Regions from separate parts of the Homo sapiens genome. Here all the other regions are linked to region 1. The links are contacts of gene promoters, found by promoter capture Hi-C in human tissues and cell types (Jung and others, 2019). All regions are on one chromosome and are shown on one strand. Each heading gives the region's core, a stretch centred on a gene start or on the middle of the fragment in contact. The rest is flanking DNA. Distances are from core to core; before and after follow the strand shown. Region 1 holds the start of JARID2 (jumonji and AT-rich interaction domain containing 2). Region 2 has its middle 70 kb from the start of LINC01108. Region 3 overlaps LOC101928331 (a long non-coding RNA gene). Region 4 overlaps LOC101928331 (a long non-coding RNA gene). Region 5 overlaps LOC101928354 (a long non-coding RNA gene).

The links. The method cuts DNA at HindIII sites, captures the fragments that hold promoters and counts their contacts. A contact is called where the count stands out against the background at its distance.
Region 2: a contact is called between a fragment that was not itself captured here and the fragment with the promoter of JARID2 in region 1, in 1 of the 25 tissues and cell types used here (heart left ventricle).
Region 3: a contact is called between a fragment that was not itself captured here and the fragment with the promoter of JARID2 in region 1, in 2 of the 25 tissues and cell types used here (IMR-90 fibroblasts and hippocampus).
Region 4: a fragment that was not itself captured here is called in contact with the fragment with the promoter of JARID2 in region 1 in 1 of the 25 tissues and cell types used here (aorta).
Region 5: a contact is called between a fragment that was not itself captured here and the fragment with the promoter of JARID2 in region 1, in 1 of the 25 tissues and cell types used here (mesenchymal stem cells).

The regions. Positions count from the first base shown.
Region 1 is chr6:15,243,819-15,248,669 of GRCh38, reverse strand. JARID2 (jumonji and AT-rich interaction domain containing 2) reads right to left here and starts at 2,601. Exons shown (of 18, transcript NM_004973.4): 1 at 2,086-2,601. The coding sequence starts at 2,130. JARID2-DT (JARID2 divergent transcript) reads left to right here and starts at 3,296. Exons shown (of 1, transcript NR_187237.1): 1 at 3,296-4,747. JARID2-AS1 (JARID2 antisense RNA 1) reads left to right here. Exons shown (of 2, transcript NR_120502.1): 1 at 1-160; 2 at 526-855. RefSeq lists silencers at 1-228, 349-408, 3,394-3,653, 3,664-3,973 and enhancers at 2,524-2,623, 2,734-2,783, 3,973-4,486. The HindIII fragment of the contact is 9,534 bases long and covers 1-4,851 here.
Region 2 is chr6:14,352,789-14,357,639 of GRCh38, reverse strand. No RefSeq gene overlaps it. Among named protein-coding and RNA genes, the nearest start is that of LINC01108, 70 kb to the right of the region's middle. The HindIII fragment of the contact is 3,624 bases long and covers 104-3,727 here.
Region 3 is chr6:14,475,604-14,480,454 of GRCh38, reverse strand. The region is part of intron 1 of LOC101928331 (a long non-coding RNA gene); the gene reads right to left. Among named protein-coding and RNA genes, the nearest start is that of LINC01108, 190 kb to the right of the region's middle. The HindIII fragment of the contact is 3,597 bases long and covers 687-4,283 here.
Region 4 is chr6:14,496,199-14,501,049 of GRCh38, reverse strand. It overlaps LOC101928331 (a long non-coding RNA gene), which reads right to left. Exons shown (of 3, transcript XR_001743994.3): 2 at 2,885-2,993. Among named protein-coding and RNA genes, the nearest start is that of LINC01108, 210 kb to the right of the region's middle. The HindIII fragment of the contact is 4,076 bases long and covers 820-4,851 here.
Region 5 is chr6:14,613,964-14,618,814 of GRCh38, reverse strand. The region is part of intron 2 of LOC101928354 (a long non-coding RNA gene); the gene reads left to right. Among named protein-coding and RNA genes, the nearest start is that of LINC01108, 330 kb to the right of the region's middle. The HindIII fragment of the contact is 3,840 bases long and covers 362-4,201 here.

The DNA of each region.
Region 1 (4,851 bases), core at 1,352-3,851:
GGGGCGCCGGCGCGCGGCGGGGGAAGAACCGGGGGGCGGAGAGGGGGCGCGCTGACGTCTCGCCGGCTTAACCTGTTGCTCTCGAGACTGCGTCGGAGCCCGCAGGCAGGGCCGCGGGAAGCCGGCCGGGCCGCCGCCGCCATGCTCGGCCGTGTGCGCGGTGGGGGGCGCCCGCTGCAGCTGTGCGCCGCGCGCCCCCTCCCCGGCACGCCCACGCCCCCGCCCCCGCTCCCACCCCCTCCCCGCGCGCTCTCCCCTCCCCGCGCCCCGCAGGCCGCGCCACCCCCGCGCCCCACCCGCCCTCCTGCCCGCCTGCAAGCCGGCCCGGGTAGACCGGTGCCCGCCTCGCGCGCCCGCCTAGAGCCCGGAGTATGCCCCCTATAGGCCGCGCGCGCGCGCCCGCCCGCCCAGCCCCGGCCCAGCCTGCCGCGACCCCCGCGGGCCGTCCCTTTCGCAGCCGGCTCGAGGACGTCGGGAACACCGGCTCTGCTCCCGGTGCATTAACTCGTGCCGTGCCTCCCGCAGCCGCCGCCAGCCACGGGCTTGCAGCCGGACGCCCGGACTCGGAGACACGATCCGCTGAACGCCCGCAATAAGAAAGAAAACCCACCCCACGCTGCTCTCCACCTCAACGAGGTCCGGAATGGGAGGCGGGGTGCGGTTCTCGTCCAAGTTCTACCCCATTTGCTTTGTGGCTGCATCCGAAACGGACGTGCCCCGGGAAGGCGTCCACGCTCCAAGACAAGGTTGCCTCAGTGCAGTTTCTACAGCCCGAGTTTAAACTAGTCCTTTGCATTCTACCCAGCCCTCTGCAATGCGGATGTATTTTAATTCTTAAATTCTTTATGGAACAGCTTTCTAAGTTGGGCTTGATTATTTAACCTTGCATTTCTTTCATAGTTGAAGTTGACGTGTCTAGATAAGGATCAGCTCTCTTGAAGAGGCATTCAGCTTTTCCATTAAATATATTTTTTTACAAAACCAGTGCCCCGAAGGTCATCTCTCATTACACACACCACAATGATCAAAAAGGGAAAATATTAACACCAATTTGTCTACCCAACTTAAATAAACTTTCCTCTTACGTTGCATTATTCCTAAGGTATGTTCATTTGGCCTTTTTTGAAAAAAAAAAAGAGTTATTTAATTTAAAGCATGCAGCTAATCACAGATCACTCGAGTGCATATTTGGTTAATCCCTCGGTCCCCCTTTCCTCCCTCCCCTCAAACTTAAAAAAAAAAAAAAGCCACCACACACAAAACAAAAACACTCCCCATGCCAATCAAAACGTAGCTGTACTATGCACAAAACAAATTTAACTATTCCAAGCCATTTAAATCTAGGAATAATCACCCAATTTCAGAAGCCCAGTTAACAGGGAGAAATTATTTGTAGTTACTTACATATGCATTCACGTACACACTTAAAAACATTAGCCATAGTGTGTGTCCTTTTCCCCTACAACTGGAAACCATGAATTTTTTAAACAAAACCAGCCTCATTATTAAAGTCAATCCCAACAAATGCATTCGCTGTAACATGATTCCCAACTGGTTTATGTTGCAAACCAGATAAGCCAAAACGACCACAGACATTAAATTTGATGTGCCAGTGCAAAGAGAAGATCGCCATAATCGGACCCTCGATCGCAACTTAAAGGGCTTCCAACACACATGCGTTACACGATTTTTCCAAATAACATTAATAATAATAACACAGGCTCATTTGCATGCAAAGTGCAATACGGGGCCAAATCCGCTTGAGAATGCAGTTTAGTTACATTACCGCAGCCACCCCCCACCTCAAGCTCCACCAAAATCCCTTGCCTTTCATCTAAAAGTAGATTATGGTTGTGTCATTCGAGGTCAATTTATTCACTTGAGGTATCTCTACACCAGTCTGTTTTTTCAACCAAACTAGGCAGACACCACTTTGCTTGAAAAGCCCTCTTTCAGAAAAAAAAGAAACAGCCTTATCGGACGCTGTGTTTAAAACCCTTCAGAGGCAGAATTATCTATAAACTTGACATTCACAGCCATTGCTTAAAACTGCAAGTCAAAGGATGTGTTGTTAGGAGCACTTACGTATTTCTTCTGAATGATATTCCTCTTGGGTCTTTCCTTGCTCATTCTGAGATCCAAATGCTGATTGCAAAAGGGGACAATTGCTTCATGAATTTAAAGCCGTCAGAAATTTGCAAAAAAATATCCTGGTGGTTTTTATTGTTGTTGGTGGTGGTTGATCTTGTAATCCGACTTTTCTTCCTCTTCCCCCAAAGCCAGATTCGCCTTGAAATAAATCCGAAATTGGGAAGGAAAAAAAAAGAGCCAAAGACGAACGAAGCAAACAAAAAAAAATTCACTTTAGTAAAACACTCATAATGGAAAATTTCCCCCGAAACACATACACACACACACAAAAAAAAACCGACGCCCTTCACTCCCCCCCCTTTTTCCTCCAAAAACTACATCAGCGAAACGTGAAGGTCCTTAGTGTCTGATCCGTAGTTACATCTTGGAAAAGAAAAGGGAAAGATAAATAAAAAATGTTGGAAGTCACGTTTGTGCTGCAGCAGCAGTGCGAGCAGAAGAGTCAACTCCAGCGGCGGCGGCGGCGGCGGCGGCAGCACCACAGCGAGGGCTCGCCGAGTCTCTTTTTTCCAAGCCCCCTAACCAATGAGAGAGAGGCTATCCAGCCCAACTTTAAATGGACTCTGCTTTTATACAAGTTAGGGCTCCTCGGATAATTCCCCGCCGGGCGCCAGCCGAAAACTCCCACCGCTCAGCCGCCAGGCGCCCGCTTAGCCTGGTGCCGACCGCCCCTGGCCCAGTCCAGGGCACCCCCGCAGCCTGGCCAACCAGACACCCGAGCGACCTCGACGAACCCCTCCCAGGCAAGCCCTCGGGCGTCGCTCCCACGCCGAGCCCAGGCGTGGAATTGAGAGAGGCTCCCTAGCTCAATGCATGGCACGCTCCGTCGCTCCACCTCACCCCCTTTCCCCTGCCTGCCGCTCACCCCACGGCCGCCCCACGCCAGCCCCCGCCACTGCCTTCGCGTCTACCTGCAGCCGGGCTGCTGGGTAGGAGTGCCCCAGGACGCCCGGCCCCGGGGAGAGCCGCCTATTCCCGGGGCACCTTAGAATGGTCCCCTTGATCTTCTGGAAGTTGTAGTCCCCCGACTACAAAATGGCTATGGCCACGGAAGCTGGGAACTACAATTCCCAGCCTGCCCCGCAAAGCCTGTCACTCAACTCCCCTCCCTCCTCCTCGCCCCCTCCCCCTCACTGGCCGTGCCAACAAACGCTTGGACGTGTCCCGCGTGCGACACTGCTAGAGGCTGGCTCGGGATTGGCCCGCGGAGCGTGTGGTCCGCGAGCGAGGAACTCCCCACGCCGGCCCTCCTCCGCCCCCCGGGCCCCGGCCCCCCTCCCCTGGCGGCCGCCAGCCCCCTCCCCGCGCGCCCCGCCCCCACCCGCGGCGCGAACCGCCTGTGGAATCGAGGAATCGCGCGCGTGCGGCCCGGAGCCGCGGGGGAGGGACGCGAGGCTTCCCCGGGGAAGGCCTCGGAGCGTGGCGGTGAGGGGGGCGGTGTCAGGGAGGGGTTGGAGCCCGTCCTAAGGAAAACTGGGCCACGCACCAAGAGGAATCCTCGGTGCGAACTAGTTGATCGGCGGCGCCTGCTGCTTGTGCCGTGCAGCCGGTGTCACCTCAGGACAGCGCCTCGCGTCTGTGTACAGAGCGTGCTGCGGGCGCCTAGGGTAGTCCGAGGTCACCCCTCTCCGCGCCCCGCAGTCGCGCACGCCCCCACGCGCGGGGTGGGCGGTGGCCGGGGGTCGCCGAGTGGAAAGGCCACGCCCCCCCACGCCCGGGCTCGGCACGCTGCCCCTGGGTCGCGAACGCGCCTCCGCTCGACCCGCTTGGAGGACGTCGCTGGTGGCCCAGGAGTGAAGCCCCGGCGGCTGCCTCCTGAGAAAAGATAGCCGTGTTTAAAGAGACTGAACGGGATCTTTGCTTTGCCGGGCGTATTTTGTGATAAAATACCACAAAATGTTGAGACAAAAATGAGTGGAATATGGAGACCGAGCCGCACAGACACGCAATTGTAAGGAAACATCTCGAACACCGAGTGCCAGGAATATCAACTGTCCGGGCCACGCAAGAGCCTGCTTTTTACCTGCCTCCAGCCCCCTGTCGTGCTGGTTTAATCGCTGAAACAAATGAAGTAGCAGGCCCTGGCATAGCGCTTTGGGCCTTCGCCTTATTAACAACTTTGTCAAGTCTCGCATCGCGATTCTGCCTTGTTAATTTCCTTGTTTTTCGCTGTGGTTTTGGAGAAGCAATGTTTTCCATGATCTCTCAGGCTAGCCTCGGAATAAAACGTGGCAGAAGCGCTCCCGCGAACACATACCCATATATTTTATTCTACCTATTCCCTAGAGTCTGCTAACTTCAAAAGTCTAGATACTCACACAGCTGTTTACTTGCAGCAGTATTTGAAGAGATAACCTTGGTGTCTAGAAAGGTCTCAGAAACTGGAGGTAAGAGACCTGGATTCAAATCGCGCCTTGGCCACTTCCCAAAAGGCAACCGAGAGCCTCTCTGAGCTTGTCAGTTTCCGCATCTGCAAATTAGTGGTGATCAAACCTGTGGGGATGATTATGTGATAAATAACAGTAACCTAGTTTAAAACTAGGCACGTTATTGGAAGCTTTCAGTAAACGAAATAAAAAGCCTTTTCGAGAGGGTATTTTCCTTATTATTTTTACCTTTTCAAAAAATCTGAAATGAAATAATTTTATCTAATGTTCACTTCACAATTGGAAAAATAAATGATCTTTTGTGCCCTGAATA
Region 2 (4,851 bases), core at 666-3,165, 890 kb after region 1:
TGCACTCTTCAGCCAATCAATGATACCACTCTTCAGCCCATTCCAAAACCCTTAAAATCCCTAGCTTCAAGCTTCTCTGGGAGACAGCTTTGAGGTTTCATCTTGTCTCCTCGTTTGGCAGCCCTACATTTAAAGCTTTATCTCTGCTGCAACTCAGTGTCTCATTGTATTGATTTGCCATGCACATTGGACAACAGATCTATTATTAGAGAAAGGAAGATGGGGAGAGAGAGAGAACCAATACTTCAACTTTATATGGTTGAGGAAATCTCATAGTCTCCCTGAATTCTCTTTCCTCCTCTACTCATTGCACTTGGAATCAGAACACTTGAGTGTAAACCTGGATACCAGGTGCCTTGAACAAGTTATTTAACCCTGCTAATCTCAGTTTGCTCCTCTGTAAAATGGGCATCTGCTAACACGTATCTGACAAGGCTGTTCTTACTAGTACATGTGATAATATGTGCCAAATTTGAGTTTTCTTTGAAGTTCTAAGACGCCTCCTTCTCTTTGTGAAAATACCTTTCTCTACCAAAAGAGATATATAGACCAATGGAACAGAACAGGAGCCTCAGAAATAACACCACACATTTACAACCATTTGGTCTTTGACAAATCTGACAAAAACAAGAAATGGGGAAAGGATTCCCTATTTAATAAATGGTGCTGGGAAAACTGGCTAGCCATATGTAGAAAGCCGAAACTGGATCCCTTCCTTACACCTTATGCAAAAATTAATTCAAGATGGATTAAAGACTTAACTGTTAGACCTAAAACCATAAAAACCCTAGAAGAAAACCTAGGCAATACCATTCAGGACATAGGCATGGGCAAGGACTTCATGTCTAAAACACCAAAAGCAATGGCAACAAAAGCCAAAATAGACAAATGGGATCTAATTAAACTAAAGAGCTTCTGCACGCAAAAGAAACTACCATCAGAGTGAACAGGCAACCTACAGAATGGGAGAAAATTTTTGCAATCTACCCATCTGACAAAGGGCTAATATCCAGAATCTACAAAGAACTCAAACAAATTTACAAGAAAAAAAAAAACCCCATCAAAATGTGGGCAAAGGATATGAACAGGCACTTCTCAAGAGAAGACATCTATGCAGCCAACAGACACATGAAAAAATGCTCATCATCACTGGCCATCAGAGAAATGCAAATCAAAACCACAATGAGATACCATCTCACGCCAGTTAGAATGGCAATCATTAAAAAGTCAGGCAACAACAGATGCTGGAGAGGATGTGGAGAAATAGGAACACTTTTACACTGTTGGTGGGACTCTAAACTAGTTCAACCATGTGGAAGTCAGTGTGGCGATTCCTCAAGGATCTGGAACTAGAAATACCATTTGACCCAGCAATCCCATTACTGGGTATATACCCAAAGGATTATAAATCATGCTACTATAAAGACACATGCACATGTATGTTTATTGCAGCACTATTCACAATAGCAAAGACTTGGAACCAACCCAAATGTCCATCAATGATAGACTGGATTAAGAAAATGTGGCATATATATACCATGGAATACTATGCAGCCATAAAAAAGGATGAGTTCATGTCCTTTGCAGGGACTTGGATGAAGCTGGAAACCATCATTCTCAGTGAACTATCACAAGGACAGAAAACCAAACACCACATGTTCTCACTCATAGATGGGAATTGAACAATGAGATCACCTGGACACAGTGCAAGGAACATCACACACTGGGGCCTGTCAGGGGCTGGGGGGCTGGGGGAGGGGTAGCATTAGGAGAAATACCTAATGTAAATGATGAGTTGATGGGTGCAGCAAACCAACATGGCACATGTTTACCTATGTATCAAACCTTCACGTTGTGCACATGTACCCTAGAATTTAAAGTATAATAATAAAAAATAAATAAAATTAAAAAAAGAAAATACCTTTCTCTTTCCTAGCACTCCCTACTCTCTTCTTTCATCCCCCCATTTGTAATGGAGCTATATAATTTTAGTCCTAATGATTTTGTTTCCTTCTTCTCTTCCTCCTCCTTCATCTTTATCTTTATATTATTATTATTAACCAAAGTCCAATATCACAGATTAATTAATTTAAACAGAGACCTAGAAGAGGCAAAAGCAGTGGAGGTGAAGAAACAGAATCGGCAGCCAGTCAAAGGTGCAAATCAGATTGGCCCCAAGTTATTAGACGTGAATACTGTTAAGATAAGTCAACTTGAACTTTCTTTGGGACAAGTTAGTCACAATAAGAATGATGCATTACTTCTGCACTGGCTCTCAGCCAGGCCAGCCCTGGGAAGTGCGGTTAGTCTCTCTAACCGAACTTGGCTCCAGAAATAGAGTTAAACCTCTTTGACAGTAGGAATAGTTTCCCCTGCCCATTACACTATTTGCAAAAGAAAAGAGAATGAGAAGTATAAACACTGGAAGATCATAAATGCTACTAATAATAAATAATGCAATCCTCTTCTGGTCTGCACACACATTCAGGTCCTTGTGCCTCTCTTCCTCCAGCCATAGGGTAGCTGTGCACAATTTGTTCCCTAGGTCAGGGTGTGGCTGGGTGAGGGGTGGTAGAATCAGCCCCTTCTGCACTCATCAAGCTGTTTGCATGTTAGGCTGCACTTACCAGGAAGAGGTATCATTTTCTAATTCATAGAAAGGCATCATGATGTGAGCTGGTGTTAGCCTACTCTTCCTCCATGTTTCGTGGAGAAAGCCTTTCAGAAACCACTTTCTCCTTGTGTATCCCTGGCATGCTTTAACCCATCTGGATATCATTCCATCTTTTTTCTCCCTTCCATGCAGTGTTTGTGGTGGAGAAAGTGTAACTATTTGAAGTCAGACTGAACTCAGATTGAATCTCACATCTGCGGCTTTCCATCCAAAGGACCATGTCTGCCTGTTGTACCTTCCCTAAGCTCCTATTTCCTCATCCATAAAATAGGTGCAACAATAGCTGTTCCTGAAGGATTGTTTAAGAATTAGAAATGGTCTAATTTATATACTTGGCACAGAGTGAGTATGGACATGTAGTCAGTAAATCACCAAGAAGAGAGAAATGCCTTTCTTCAAGTTTCTAGGAAAACAAAACAAAACAAAATAAAACTTTTGGGCCTGGCCCCTATCTTAAACAAACTATACCAACTGGAGTAGGTTTTGAAAAACTGTCTGCGGCTCATGCTAAAGTAAACTGAATGTATAAAAATACAGATTTACCAAACAGAAATATGTCACATCCATTTTTTTATTCTCTCTTTATAAAAATACAAGCTGCCTACTACATTGAAAGAAGGATTCAACTTGCAGTTCCTTGATTTGTTTATTGTTTTCCAAGGGAAGCATATAGTTTGTAATTAAGTATACCTCTAGATTTTGGATGTGGGCATGTCTCTTACAGAATTGAATATTACTAATAATGACAAAGGTAAAGTGTCTGCAAATGACAAATGAATCGGGGCAGAGAAACAAGCACAATAGATTAAGTAGTATATCATTGGGAGAACCTAGGGCCTAGGATGAGAAACACAAGTCAACACCTTAAACTTTCAAAATGGGTCTCAGGATTCATTTGTCTAGAAACAGGATTGAAATAAGGAACTCAGATGCACTGATGAAGTGCTGGAGATGAGAAGGACCTAGACATGATACGGCCTAAACCTCTGGTTGCACAGATGGGGAAATAGGCCCAGGGAGTCATTCCACTTATTTAGTGGCAAAGTTAGTGCAACTACCCAGGTTTTCTGGCACTCTGGCCACTGGAGAATTCTGTATTTCATCTGTAATGATATCACATATTTTCCTAAAAGGCCCATTACTATTCTGATGGTAGAGGAAAGAAGTTTAGGTTTAATCTTCTCGGCCTGCACTTGTCCAGGTTATGTTCCTCAGGGGGCAGCCCTAACAGAAGAGGAAATGCATGCAATGGGGAAGGGGGGCTCACTCTCTAGTTTTCTGTGTGGCTCACCATGTCTCCACGCTAGCACAATGCCTGACATAACAGCAAGAATTTAGTGACTCTTGACTGAACCAATTTTGAGTGCACACTTTCAAATCTTGTTAGTTTAAACAATGCAATGATCATGACCTTTTGGTAACTTTCAAAGAAAGAGAGCAAGGAAGTGGGGCACAGGGTGGCTGATATAGCGTTAAGTAGAAAGCTCAGGGTCTAGGTAGTCAGGAAGAGTGAGTTTCCTATCCTGGCTTCACCACCTACCTACCCAGTGACTCAGAACAAGTAGTTACTTGTCTTTTTTGAATTTTGTTTTTCTCAAATGTAAAATGGAATAAAATGTCTATTTCATGGAATTTCATGCAGATTACATGATAATATTTATTAATTGCTTGGCACTGTACCCGGCATAGGCTAGGAGCTCAATAAATATAACTGAGACAAAAAAGAAAGGAGATATTGTGTAAACAGGGTCCTGTTGGGTTTTAAGTGCATGCAGAGAAGTAGCTTCATCTTACATTATATTCCGGCAAACTGTGAATACCTCCCCACATCAATTCAAATCTAGCACATTTGCCCTTAAACCTAACAGGAGGTGGTCTCCAGTCTCCACCATTTCTCCCTTCCTTTTGCTTCTTTTCAATTTTTTTTTCAGGTTTTGGGTGCTCCATCAGCTCAGGTCCCTGAAAATCCATACAATCAGGAAAACTGAGAGTTGGTGGAGTCAAGGACCAGCCCTCTAGTCCCAGAGGGACAGCCATGGCTCTGTCCTTTCAGCCCAGTGTGAGTCTAGAAGCAAGGCCCTGAAGCCACGTGTCTCCAGTAGGGACCCAGGCCAGGAGAGGCTCAGGGGGAAGGCTACAGTGCTGGAGCCCTGCTTGGAAGGCAGGCCCACTGGGGC
Region 3 (4,851 bases), core at 1,236-3,735, 770 kb after region 1:
CTGCTTTGTTTACCTAAGCAAGCCTGGGCAATGGCGGGCGCCCCTCCCCCAGCCTGGCTGCCACCTTGCAGTTTGATCTCAGACTGCTGTGCTAGCAATCAGCGAGACTCCGTGGGCATAGGACCCTCCAAGCCAGGTGTGGGATATAATCTCCTGGTGCGCAGTTTTTTAAGCCTGTCGGAAAAGCGCAGTATTCGGGTGGGAGTGACCCGATTTTCCAGGTGCCGTTTGTCGCCCCTTTCTTTGACTAGGATAGGGAATTCCCTGACCCCTTGCGCTTCCCGAGTGAGGCAATGCCTCGCCCTGCTTCGGCTCGAGCACGGTGCGCTGCACCCACTGACCTGCGCCCACTGTCTGGCACTCCCTAGTGAGATGAACCCAGTACCTCAGAAGGAAATGCAGAAATCATCCGTCTTCTGCGTCGCTCACGCTGGGAGCTGTAGACCGGAGCTGTTCCTATTCACTTGTTTATTTCTTGAATGAGAATTTCCTAACTTCCCTTTCCTTTCTACAAGTCCTTAACCAGCCCCCAAATCCTCCTCCTAAAATTGCTGACCTTAAATATACTACTTGTGAGCTGAGATGAGCAGATAGATTTGAACCCATCTCCTATCTTCTTGTTTGGCTGCCCTGCAATAACACTTTCTTTCTAAAAAATTCAACACTTCAGTGTTTGGGTTTCTGCCCTGCATGGTCAAACAGACCCAGCTGGGTTCTGTAACAGTGGTAGACTATGACATGCCCTCGCACGGTCCCTTCTGCATTGGTAGAGGACTTGGCCATGGGGCTTGCTTTGGCCAGTGGAACAGCAGCAAATGTGACCGAACAGAAGCTGGATAAGCACTTGCACATCGGGGCTTGTCCTCTTGAAATGCTTCCTCTTGGAAGCCACCTGCCATTCTATGAAGAAGTTCGGGCTAGATCACTGAATGATGAGCAACCACATAGAGAAAGACCCCCACAGAATAAGAGACCGTCAAGGATGTGTAAGTCTCAGTGAACTTCCAGGTGAATGCACCTGATGAGTGACCTGAGCTATTGCACTTTCATGCTGAAGAACTGCCACCTGAGCCCTGCCAACCACCAACTCTTAAATAATGGGAGGAGATTGTTACCAAGTAATAGACAGCTGAAAAAAAGAATGCAAAAGCAGAATAAATTAAAATCTAGAAAATAATTCAATAATCACATATGAGATTCCCCTCAGGGAATTTCTGCTTTTGTGATACATGTAGGATAGTCTTATGTTGAAATCTGAGAATAAAAATTCAAACTAAATGTCAAGAAAATTTTACTCATTTATTAATTCCTTCAACAGTCTTTTGTTGGCCTTCTGTTATGAGCCAGGCTCCGTGTGAATAGAGAAGACAGGGAAAGGGAGAGAGACGAGGGAGCTCATCTCACCCCAGCACAGTGTGCTAAGTGTTGTGAAGGACGGCTGTGGGGAGTACAGCGGAGGGTAGGAGGACGGGCAGAGCTGAGGGAACTTCCCAGAAAAAGGTGGCCCCAGAGAGAAAGATTTTGCTGGCTAAGGACTTTTATGGAAACCTAACTTGGGATGATTTAATTCCAGGTATCTTTATGAAACTTAGGATTTAAAAAAGACAAATGGAGAGTTAGATAAGGAGAGACAAGCATTTCCTATTTATTTAAAGATTCCAAATACAACTCTTCATAAGATATGAATGATCTGTCTTGGCTCCCTTAAAGCACATCCTGGACACATGGCCAAGAAACTGCTTCCTTCAATCACCACGACAGAGTGCCTCGTGTAACAGTGTTCTGCACCTTCCCCTCTCCTCCCCTACCCACACCCATCCTCACACATGCTCCTCCCTGCCCCTGACACTGACAACCTAGGAATTGCTAGGAGAAAAGCCTGGCATATGTGGGAGCCACCCTCAGAGAAGCTGTCCCGAAGGAAAGGTGCTAACTAGGTGAAGACATATGACTCTCTGAGCGCTATTTCTTAATTCTAATGGAGGGAGACTGTGGCATGGAGCCAGGAAACAGAAAAGGCATGAAAAGAAGAACTAATTTGGAGCTGGCGGGGTGAGTGTTTCCTGGCTTATTTAAAAACATAGATACAGAATTCAAACATGGAAGAGGAATCTGACTACCAGAAGGAGACAGGATGTCAACAATGGAGTCAACAATGGCCAGGCCTGAAGCGATGTATTTTGACACTAGGGAAGCCATATAAAGAATACTGCTTGGTGGATCGGGTGGGTTCATCTTATACTCAATGTTTCATTTCCATTTAAATCTCTTGGAGGCAGAGGTTGAGGTTATTGACTTGGCCCCATATTAAGGAAAAATCATAACCCAGGCCTCCAAAGACCTTCCAGACTACAAGAGAAAAAGTCAAACACATGGCTAACGGGCATATATAAGGATCTTCACTGAACACGGACTTTTGAATGTCTATGATGTAGCAAGCACTGTGCTGGACACCACAGGTGCATTAAGGCATATGCCGGAGTCCCTTCCCTCAGGGAACATCCCTTCTAATTGCCACTTAAACATGGCAAACCTACGGAGGTGTGCCAGGACAAGGGCAGTCAGAAGGGTGGTGTGGTATACTGGGAAGCTCATAGACCACCTTGCTTTGAGTGCCTCTCAGCCGCTGTCTTGCTCTGTGATTTTAAGGAAGTCCTTGAACCTCGCTGAGCCTGCTTTTTCCATCTGCAGATTGGTGATAATGAAACCTACCTTGCTGTTTCATGTTGAGGAATCACTGTGAGAAGGTAAGGCCGTAACAATTTGTCGGAAGGAGAAGGAAGGTCAAAGCTTTGTTGAAGAGCTTTATGCTATTGGCCAAACAGAAACATAGAGCCCTGTGTGTGGTAACTCTCAGGGGACATGGTTGCCTCGTGGATAAAAACGTGAGAATTAGAAGAACAGAAAAAGCCAGCAGGAAAACTCAGAGGAAAGAGTCAGAGAGAACAAGGATGTTGTCTGTCTCCAGCATAATTGTGTAGAGCCTGGGATTCATTGCTAGTGACATTCCCTGGCTTCTCCCTCAGTGTGACGTCATGTGCTCTGTGATGTTTATTGCACTGCATTCCAGGGATGCTGCACAGAGCCATGTCCAGTGTCAGAAACCTTGGAAAATAGTCCTCGGTTTAATTTTAACTTTTTATATAAACAGTGACCTAATTTGAGGAAGGCTCGGTCTGGCCAGGCATCCCCGCTCCCACATTTCCTCCTCTTCACTCCCTCCTTCTGCCCTTAGTCAAACTGTCTCGCCTTCATCTCCCATATGGACTTTGCAAACAAGCAAGGGGGATGTGTGAGCTCAGCTAACTTGAAAAGAGAAGACGTGTGCCAGCGAAGCAAAACACTCCAGCCAAGTCATGCACCTCTGCGGGAGGGAGCCACCTCCTCAGCTCTCATCGTGAAATGTTATCTCACCAGGGCAGATGGAGGTACAGACAGAGGACTCCAACGCAACACAAGCAGCTGCCTGTCCAGAAGAGAGCCCTTTCTCTCCCTCCCAGTCCCAGCTCCAGCTGTATTTTCTTTCTTTCTTTCTTGAGCAAGAGGTCAGGTTCTCTCTGTATGCTTTGTGCAAATTAAGTGAGCTGTGAGTGCTGCCTGCGGCCGAAGGAACTACCCTCTGGTCTATGGTTCATCCTTCCTTCACTCCAACCACCACTGAGGGAGCAGAGCCCTCCCTGCCCAAATGCACAAGTGGGCAGCACCTCCGAGAACACAGAAGAATATGAAACGACCCTTCTAATTACTCAGGTGCAAGCAGAGGAGCTAACCATCCCACCGGGAGCCCACCCATGAGTGATGAATTCCAGTGACTGAGCCCAGTGTTGGGGGCTAGGGTAGAGGAAGAGTCCCTTGTGGACACGGTGGGAGGGAGGGAGGCATGAGGGGACAAGCAGGATGCCCTGACAGATTTTAACCCAGAAGCATGAATCCAGGTCTGAGGTCAGCAAACGTTTTCTGTAAAGGGCCAGATAGTAAATAATTTGTACTCTTTGTGGGCCATCCAGTCTCTGTCTACTTGACTCTGCCATCGTAGGGCAAAAACAACCACAGACAATAAATAAACGAACGGGCGTGTCTTGTGTTCCAATAAAAGATGGTTTACAAACACAGGCGGCTACTGGATCTGGCTCATTGGCTGTAGTTTTCTGACTGAAAGATCTAAAAGAACACCCTTTCCCATTGGTTCTGTCCATGTTTCCATATAGCTAACAATATCCTGGAGACCAGTTTGCCGCCCCGTTCCCCAAACCTTTATGTGCCTCTGATTTCTACACCCTGTTACTCTGTCTGCAAAAACCCCCAAATGCTGTAACTGGCTATTCACCTGGACAGAATGGCCTCCTTCAGGGAAAGCCAGCAGGGATGGTGAATTCAGATTTCCTGATTTCGTTGACAAATTCCTCACCACTGGCAGGAATGGGAAAGATAGATATTGAAGGTGCTGAAACCCACCCCTGTTGTCAGTTCAGGAGTGAGGTAAAAACATTCCTTGAGCAATTTGGTTTAGAATCATAGAGCCTCCTATTTTCTAATCCTTCTCTCTTTCTAGGTCTGATAATCTGAATATTGGCACTTCTACTTTATTCTCCATATTTCTTACCTTTTCTTTTCGTTTTCTGTTACTTCATACATTCCTCATGCTTTCTAGAAAAGCTCCTTAGTCTAATATTGCAACCCATAAGTTCCTTTAGCTATACTCACTCTACCATTTTCCCCATTCATTGCTGTGTTTTGTTTTGTTTTGTTTTAGAGTCAGGGTCTTGCTGTGTTGCCCAGGCTAGACTCAAACTCTTGGGCTCAAGGGATCATTCTGTCTGAGACCCCTAGGTAGCTGGGATTACAGGTGTG
Region 4 (4,851 bases), core at 1,608-4,107, 750 kb after region 1:
AACACATTACTCTTCAAAGTAGGTTATCTGGCATTCCATTTAGAGCTGAGGGAGAGATACCATGTTGCTGGCTTTATGTCTCCTAGGGCTATATTAATTATTTATTATAGACTGCTGATGTCAACCGTTAACTCAGGCGGGTCAGAGTTTGTACATATATCTAACCAATGTCTGGCTTTTTGGAGTTTGGATGTGGATTTCTGGAAACTAGCAATCTGTGTGTTTTGTGAGTTTAATTCCATGTGCTACCACTGCTGCCGTTAACACCAAAAGGAAAGGAGCTAAGGAGTCTTCTCGGCTATCTTCAGGTAGCAGTTGCCTCCAAAGTTTGGGAGACACACTGTCAGAGGCCTCCTTCTTCTCCCCCGCTCCCAGCCAGCCCACTTTTTTTTTGGTTTGGGCATGAGTCTCGCTTTGTCACTCAAGCAGAGCATGGAGGCACGATCTTGGCTCACTGTAACTTCCGCCTCCCGTGCTCAAGTGATTCTCCTGCCTCAGCCTCCCGAGTAGCTGGGACTACAGGTGCGCATCACCATGCCCGGCGAATTTTTGTAATGTTTTTTTTTTTTTGTAGAGAAGGGGTTTCACCATGTTGACCAGGCTGGTCTCGAACTCCTGGCCTCAAGAGATCCGCCCGCCTAGGCCTCCCAAAGTGCTGGCATTACAGGCGTGAGCCACTGCACCCAGCCTCTTCTCCCTTTCTTTGCAAGGATTAATACCAGAACTCCTAATTCCAGTTCTTTTTTTATTCCCCACAACCGTAGTGAACCCAGCTCTGAGCTTAGAAATTATGGGTGCGATTAGCTGGGTTGCCTTTTCATTTCCCACACGTTCCCTGCGCAAGCTCTCCATAAAATGTCACTATCTGCCACCTCCTGAAACGAGACGTGTGGTGTAGGGGAAGCAGCTCGCCAGGCGCTGCTCTTGCTTGCTGGTTTGCAGAAGGGCACATGCCCATATGTTTCTGGGAGATGTAAAACTATCGTGTTGCTGCTGAGCAATCCACAACAAAAGCACATGCTGCCTGCATTCCCCGGATTCCTGTACAGTAGACTAATCCATTTAATCTCACTGTTAGCTTCCCCGGGCGGGAATTTCACAGTCTCTTTTGATTTAGTGGTTTGTAAAATCTCTGATTAAGTGCCTCTGCCCTCCTGTTATTGTCTCTCTATTCCCTAAATGATTTTGTGGGGAAGAAACCAGTGGAGTTGAAACAAGGGTCAACACACCCTCATCCTTACCTACTTGGTTTTTCTTTATCATTCTTAATTTTTTTAGTTTTATGCACTTTTTTCCCCCTTGACTCTGCTGACATGTGACAGCATTTTGCTTCTTAAATTATAAAATATGCCCTCTACTTTGCCAATTCTTGCTGGGTCCTCCCAGCTGTGTTGATCCCAAGTTTATCTCTTGGCATCTAAGGATCCACTACTCTGTTTGTCTTTAGAAGGGTGGTGATGCGAGCAAAGGTGATGGAAACGACAGACCTGACCTTGAGACCTAGTTCTGTCATTTGCTAGCTGTGTGATTGTGGGCAAGTTGCTTCACCTCTCTGGTCCTAATTTCCTCATTAAAAGTGAACATTAAATGCTATAGCATATAGAAAGTTCCTAAGTGGGCCAGGTGTGGTGGCTTACGCCTGTAATTCCAGCGCTTTGTAAGGCCAAGGTGGGAGGATCACATGAGCCCAGGAGTTTGAGACCAGACTGTGCAACATAGGGAGACCTCATCTCTCCAAAAAATAAAAATAAATTAGCCAGGCATGGTGGTGTGTGCCTGTAGTCCTAGCTCCTCTGGAGGCTGAGGCAGGAGGATCGCTTGAGTCTGCTAGGTCAAGGCTGCAGTGAGCTATGATCATACCACTGCACTCTAGCCTGGGCAACAGAGCAAGATCCTGTCTCTAAAAAATAAATAAAATTAAATTTAAAAAAAGTGCCTACATGCCTGCATATAGTAGATACTCAACAAATTATGATAATAATAGCTATCATTCCTACAAGTGTATGTGTTGTGCACAGCAGTGATTTGACTTGGGGCATTTTACTAAGTCCTTTGATGTGTGTTTTCCTGATGTCTCTGCTTAGATTAAGCTTCTTGAAGTTAAGAGCCCAAGTTTTCTATTTATTTTGTAACTGTTCCCTGCATTTACTTTGTGCTATTTTCCTGCCTGATTCTCTGCCTCTTAAAAATGCCTATCATCATGATAGCAATGCCCAAACTAACTCCAGCTCTACAAATAAAGCTTACACCCTCTCATCAGAGTGTAGCAGGTACGAATTGCACTCTAGAATTTGGAAGTAGGAAACATGGCAGTTCATTATTTAAAAAAAAAAAAATGAAATTACATGTGGCTCCGAGCTCCCACTATGGAAGTGGGAAGGAAGGGAGGAAGGAAGGAAGAAAGGAAAGAAGGAAGGAAGGAAGGAAGGAAGGAAGGAAGGAAGGAAGGAAGGAAGGAAGGAAGGAAGGAAATACCTGGAGGTATTTTCAGTTGTTGGCAGTGACTTTTTTTTTTTGACAGTCTTACTCTGTCACCCAGGCTGGAGTGCAGTGGCGTGATCTCGGCTCACTGCAACCTCCACCTCCCAGGTTCAAGCAATTTTCCTGCCTCAGCCTCCCGAGTAGCTGGGACTACAGGTGTATGCCACCATGCCAAGGGTAATTTTTTGCATTTTTAGTAGAGACCAGGTTTCACTGTGTTAGCCAGGATGGTCTTGATCTCCTGACCTCGTGATCCACCCGCCTCGGCCTCCTAAAGTACTGGGATTACAGGGGCAGTGACTTTTTAATTTACCATATGTGTCACTTGCTCCCATACTATCTCTGTACTCGGATTATTGTCCTCTAGTGGGCTGTTTCCTTCCTTTTAGTCCCTCATACCTACCATGCTTGCACCAGTGTCTCAGACCAATTATGGCAGCCAGTCCATTAACTGGATCCCTCCAAAGGTATCCCAAGACTCCACTTCCTCATTCAGTACCTCTGCTCCAGCACTAGATTGAGAAGGAAAGAAAAATTAGTATTTATTGATCATTTCCTATATAACACATTTAAATGTGTTGCCTAGTTTAGAACCAGGCTGTAATCCCAGCTCTTCCATTCCAAGCTGCATGACCTCAGGTAAGACACTTACCCTCTGCAAGATTCACCTCACCTCACCTGTAGAAAGAAGATGCTCCAAAAAAAAAAAAAAAAAAAAAAAATCAATTAAAAAAAAGATTCTTTGGTACTATTAAGCTTTGGCCCTTATCTTTATCCGCTCCTAACAACCTAATTTTCTGACTCTGTAATTTTATTTTTTCCATTTTTTTCTTCTCTGCTAGACAAGAAATAAATGGAAAGCCAATCTTCAGATAAACTAATCAGTGCTAATGGATGTTAATGATTTAAGGGGTTTACCTCTCAAAGGGATTTGAATTTTAATAGGTAAATTCCATTTCTTAGTTCAAAAAATATCGAGTGTCCAGTGCCTGTCAGATTAACTTTAACCTAAAATTTCCCAAAATGTGCACCATGAAAAAGAGTTCCCCAGTCAACTAAATTTTTAAAATACAATGCACCAACTTCTGCTTCTGCCCAAGGTGAGATAAAAGGGCGTGAATTTATCCTCCTTTCCGAAACAACAATAGAAAAACATACAAAATATATGAAAAAATGATTTTCAAGACTTCTCAGCAGGAAACAAAGGGCAGTGATTCAGACAGAGCATGAAGGGGAGTCCTAGGAGTACTCCAGCTTACTGCCTTCAGAAAACTTCCAGGCTGCAGTGCAGGGAGGGGAAACCCAGGTAGAGCAGAGGAGATGGGGCTGAGGATGTAGGAGATCACCATGGCCAGAGGTCATGGGACGGCATACAAAGGGAAAACCCTGGATGTCTGCAAAGGTTCCCCCTGTGTGCACAACAGAGTACAGACCAACACATGCATGTGAGGAAGCTACCCAAGAATGGGGCAAGAAAAAAAATCTGGAAGAATGAGAGAATAGTGCCTGACACATACACAAAGCTGAGAATAGTGACTATTCCCACCAACCAGACTGGAAAACTCAATTCATGAGGCATTTGGGTAGAATACTTAGCAATGTTGTGCCTTAGTAATGGAGAATAATTGGCCTCAGATTAAGCAGTTATGGACCTGCCTAACAAATCATAAAAGTTACAGCTGAAAGAATCAAATCATTTCCAATACATCCCAGAACAAAGCTCAAGAATAGTTATACAAGAATATTTAAACAAAAATATTCAGAGCTCAACAAGGTAAAAATCCACAATGTTTGGCATCCAAATAAAGATATCAAGCATTCAAAGAACCGTGACCTATAGTGAGGAGAATAATCAGTGAATTGAAGGCAATCCAGAACCAGCACAGAGGTTAGTTAGAACTAGCAGACAAGAACAAACCAGTTGTTAGAACTTTATTCTATATGTTCAGATAGTGAAGTAGAGATATGGAAAATATTTTAAAAGATCCAAATGAAACTTCTGGAGAAAAACTTTACTGTCTGAGATTAAATAATAAATGGGATTGATGGCAGATTAGACATAGTAGAAGAAAAAATTAGTGAACTTGAAGATGTATAGTAAGAGAAAATATCCTAAATGAAGCACAGAAAAAATAGACTCAAACAAATGATAAAAGTATAAGTGAGCTGTGAAAAAACTTCATGTAGCTTAATGTGTGCATAATCAGGAAAATATTCAAAGGCATTCTGATTGAGAATTTTTCAAAATGGTTTTTCAAAACAGGATCAATACCAAACAAAAATACTAGAATAGCATGGTAAAACTGCAAAAATCAAAGACAAAGGTAAAATCTTAAAAGCAGCCAGAGAAAGACACATTATATTTATGAG
Region 5 (4,851 bases), core at 1,032-3,531, 630 kb after region 1:
AAATGCTTCACTTAAGGTCTAAGGGGAGTCACCAATGAGGAGAAAGAAAGAGAGAGAGAGAGACAGAGAGGGACAGACAGAGGGGCAGAGGGTGCACATTTTGGAATGCAGAAATGGTACAGAAAAGAAAAATGCTAGAGGGAGAAATTGTAACTAAACCAAAATTAAGCAGCACTTCTTAAACCGTAAGCATCATAGAGAAACAGAGCCAGCAGGCACCTCAGTGATCGCACAGTCCAACTTATCTTTAGACCTTCGCAAAGGAAAGGAGGCAGACAGCCTGTGCTCAAATCCCAACTTTGCCATTTACTTTGGGCAAGTAGTTGCAGTTTCCTAAGCCTCAACTCCCTTGTTGGTGTGAACATTAATTGTTGGCTTCAGGATCACGCTGTGAGTGAAGTTGAAGGCTGGTGCCTCCAGGTGCCAGGAGTCACTATAAATTGGGAGACCAGGGCATGTGTCTCCATCCGTGTCCCCCATAATCCAGGTTTAGACTTAATAGTGCCCAGAGGAGGCCTGAACAGGCTTTTCTTTGTGCGGGGCAATAGACTTTCGGAGACTGAATTCCATTAAATGACGCCAGCAACAATTCAGAGCTTCCATCCTACATCACTTAAGTCAAACCTGTGCAGCTCATTTCCTGTTTCTCTTATGGGTTGCTTTTCCTTGCTTTTGGTTGGGGAAAAGTTAGTTTTGAAAACACCCCTTGTAATAGGTGTTGCAAAACACTTGAGCATCGATATGAGCCTATTAAATTCTAATAGCTCTGTTGGCAGGTAAAATGCGCATATAGATTTGAAAAGTGCTCATGCCATTTGCCTTTTGGACTGCTGGGGCCATTCTGAAGAGATTACATGGTTAAGGTCAAGGAGTTTGGAGGGGTAGAGTTGGTCTCTCCAATTCATTTCCCCTCAGGTTGTTTTCCTAGGCAATTATACATTGCAGGATGGTTCATCTGACTAGCAAGAAGCTAGTCTTCCTAAACATCTATTGTTCCTCTTCAACCAAGAATATCTATTTTTTCTTTGTCAACACCACTAAGGGATTATGCCACCTCTCAGCTTTTCCTATTCTAACTTTGTTCAAATAGTTTAATTCTAAAAGCTGCTGATTCCAAGGAAAAAAAAAATCTACCGAGAAATCCTACAGTGTGGGATTCTGGTACTAACCAAATAAGGCTATTTGATTGTGTAAGTAAATACCCCAGGCCCAAAAGTTTTTGCTAAGGGAGAAAGATCTGAAATAGAAGACAGGCTGAAGTAAGGTCTAGCTTTTTGGGAGACGGAGAGAATGTGCTGGGGGAAAAAAAATCCCTTGCAGGGGATTCTGGGTTAGACAGAAGAGAGAAAGGAGTAACGAGATCATCAGTGCTCACTGTTACCTATGATATTTAGCAGAAAGATCCTCTAGGGTGAAGTACTGGAACCAATGCATTCCAGAGCCAGATGTGAAACAGAAAATGTTGGGACTTAGGGAACTGCATCCTAGGAGACTCCTTAAAATGTGTCATCTCATATTTTGGCTTATGGTGAGGCAGCAAGGGCTGAACTGTCCTAATAGCCATTTAAGTTTTCAACATGATGTAGAGTCAAAAAATGATGTCAGAACTTCAGAAAATGTGTTTAGACTAGACTCTTTTACCTTGTGGGAATTCAGTTGAAAGAATCACTAATTTTTTCATATGGCTACTGTCATTGATTTACAAAGAATTCTTCTTGCAGGCATACATAAAATACAGGAAACCCCATAATTAAATACCTACTCTGACCACAAAGTCAGACTGTCTTAAGCTATCTCCTTCATGCACATGCACATAGAAAGAAAGATCCATCTCTGAGCATCCATTGAAAACTTGCAGATTTTTTTCTTTACCCCTTCCTAGAATTGCTGTCAAATTAAGCTCCACTTCAGAAGACAAGCAACAGTGGGAGAAACTCTGAGTCAACGGCTTTAACTTTGGCAGCGTTCTTCACTGATTCGTGAAGTAGGCTAGCAACCTCGTTTCCCCTTTTAACCCACGTCCCATGCCACGTGTGTCTGGAACAAAAGAAATTTTAATATGGACAGCATGAACGAATGGAGGTGGGGTGTTCCTTCCTGACTCCACTCCTAGGAGTTAAGCTGCAAACACTGTCACCTTCGTGCATTTGATTCCGAGGCTTATAAAGATTCTAGACTATGAGATGAAATGGGGCCAGTTCAGCTGCCTGAATGGGCTCTTCCATAGATGGCAGAGGGGCAAGCTCTTGCAGACTGGAAAAGCTTCCTAAGAATTGCTTATGCTATACTAGCGCCACCCCCAACAAGTCCATTCAGCAGGCATCCCATCCCCCAAACCTGGATGTGGAGGGCTGAGTAATGGCACCCAAAGATATTTGCATGTGAACCCTTGGAACCTGCAAACGTTACCTTGTATAGCAAAATGAATTTTGAAGATATGATTACATCAAGAACTCTGAAAGGGGAGCATTATCCTGGATTATCTGGGTGGGCCCTAAAAGTAACCACAAGTATACTTATAATAGGGAGGCACAGAGCCATTTGACTACAGAAGAGGAGAAGTCAATTGGATGATGGTAGCAGACATTACAGTGATGCGGCCACAAGCCAAGCAATGCTGGCAGCCACTGGAAGCTTGAAGAGGCAGGAATGGATGTTCCCCTGGAGCCTCCAGAAGGATTCAGCCCTATCGACATGTTGATTTTAGCCTCATAAGATTCCTTACAGACTTCCAGCTCCAAGAACTGCTGGAGAATAAAGTTCTGTTGTTTGAAGTCACTGACTTTATGGTAATTTGTTACAACCGTAATAGAAAATGAATACATTCTTCTTTTCAGATTTGCTAAAGAATGACGGAATGCGTCCCTCTGGTTCTCACTGGGCTGCTATTGGGACACTAAGGGATACCTGCATAGCCACACCTGCCTGCCTCATGTAGAATACTCTGGCACTGAGTTCTTAGGGAGATAAATGCACGTTTTCCCAATCTGTCCACTCAGCCTGTTTCTCAGAGCTGAGCTCTTCTGAGAACTTTGGCGGGGTGAGAAGCTGACCTCAAGAGTTGCCACAGTACCTCCCTTTTCCTTTTGCAGTTACTTTTTGCTTCTTCCCCACTTCCACAGTCACTCCCCAGTCATTCCCCAAAATAGCCTGGTTCTGTGTCTCATTCACTGAGAGGCTGGCGCCATTAGCTAACTGAAGCAAGAGATCTGTGTAGTTGAGTCAAGTTTACTCTCCCCTCTTCTCACCTGGCAAGCTTCTTTCTCATCTTGTTAACCATGTATTTTTAACACTTGCCTCTCAGAGAAGGTGTTATCCTCCTTTCTTGACAGAGTCATTGAATTTCCAGTTCAGAAGGACCTTTATTAAACACATTAATTCCAACTCCAGTAAAGTAATTAACGTGGGGCTTGGGCAGTCGGGAGAGGTAGTAATGGGGCTAAGGGACCCACAGTTGTAATACCACCCCAGGTAATTCTGAGACACATGGCCTGTGGGCTGCTCTTGGAGAAACAATGGCAAGATTGCTAAGTCAAAAGAGGGGAAGCAAGCAGTGGGGACCTTCATTTTTTGGAACAAATTCTACTTGAAGCCACTGTCGTGTCCCTTTCTTCTTGTTCCTACAGAAGTAGAAAACAGTCCCTGGAAGATTGTCCTTCCAATGGCCATGGGCTAATCCGTGTGCTTTGGCACGTTCTGGGCAGATTCGTGGCTGAGTTTTGTTAAACCTGGGACCCGTAGGAAACCCTGGACATTCGTTGCACTTGGGCAAAGCTAAATTGCAAGAGCACTTCATTGAGATGCTGAGCTATCTGGGAAAGGAGCAAGCAGTCAGGCGAACCAGAAAGACCCATTTAACCAACTTGGAAGATGGGCATTTTTGATGAGAGCATTAACCTTCTCTTGGCTGGCTGTCATTTCCAAATGACAGCAGCGTGCCTGGCATTTCCATGAACTCTTTCATCTCTAAGAGAAGAAGGGGAAGCAAGGGTCACATCTAAGATATTAAAAGCAGGAAGGAAACCTTTGAGCAATTTGGTACCCTTTGGCCTGTGGATTTTTTTCTCCCACTGAGGTGGTGCATATTTAAAAAGCATAACCTAGGAGATGTTTTGAAAGAACAAGTTCAAAAACTGGCTTAGACCTGCTTTTAGAATGTTAGAAATTGCCTGCCCTTGTGGATGGTCAGGACATAAATTCTTCTGGGAGTTGGGCCCTGACAGGATTCTTTTGGTTGCAAGAGACAGAAAGCCAAGTTTGTATTTTCTTAATTAAAAAACAGGAGCTACAGGTCTCAGGTATCTGAACTGTCTCATTACAGATGAGGCTTCAGGCACAATTGAATACAGAGGCTGAATGATATAATTGAGGATTTAGTCAGTCTCTCTCTCTTCCCTGTGTGGATTTAATTTCTATTCAGGCTTTCCCTTTCTGCTTACAAGAAGGCTGCCCTCAACTGGGGAAGACACATTTTCAAGTTCAAATCCAGTCCCTGTGAGAATCTACAGGCTTCCATGACTGCTAATGTGAAAGTCTAGGAATTAGATGCTCTTGGTCATAACTGGCCTAATTTCTCATCTCCAGGACAATTATGTGGAGGGGGTATTGACCCATGCCTCTGAAATTTTAATGTGCATATGAATCATCTGGGAATTTTATTAAAAGCCAGATCCTGACTCTCTGGAAGTCTCAGGTGGGACTCAAGATTCTGCATTTCTAACAAGCTCCCAGGTGAGGCAAAGCCTGCTGGTCCAAGGAACATCTCTTGAGTAGCAAGGATATAGACTGGGCATGTTGGTTTAATCTAGGAGGTATTTTCCATCTCCATAAACTGAGGATAGTCTCAGCTTC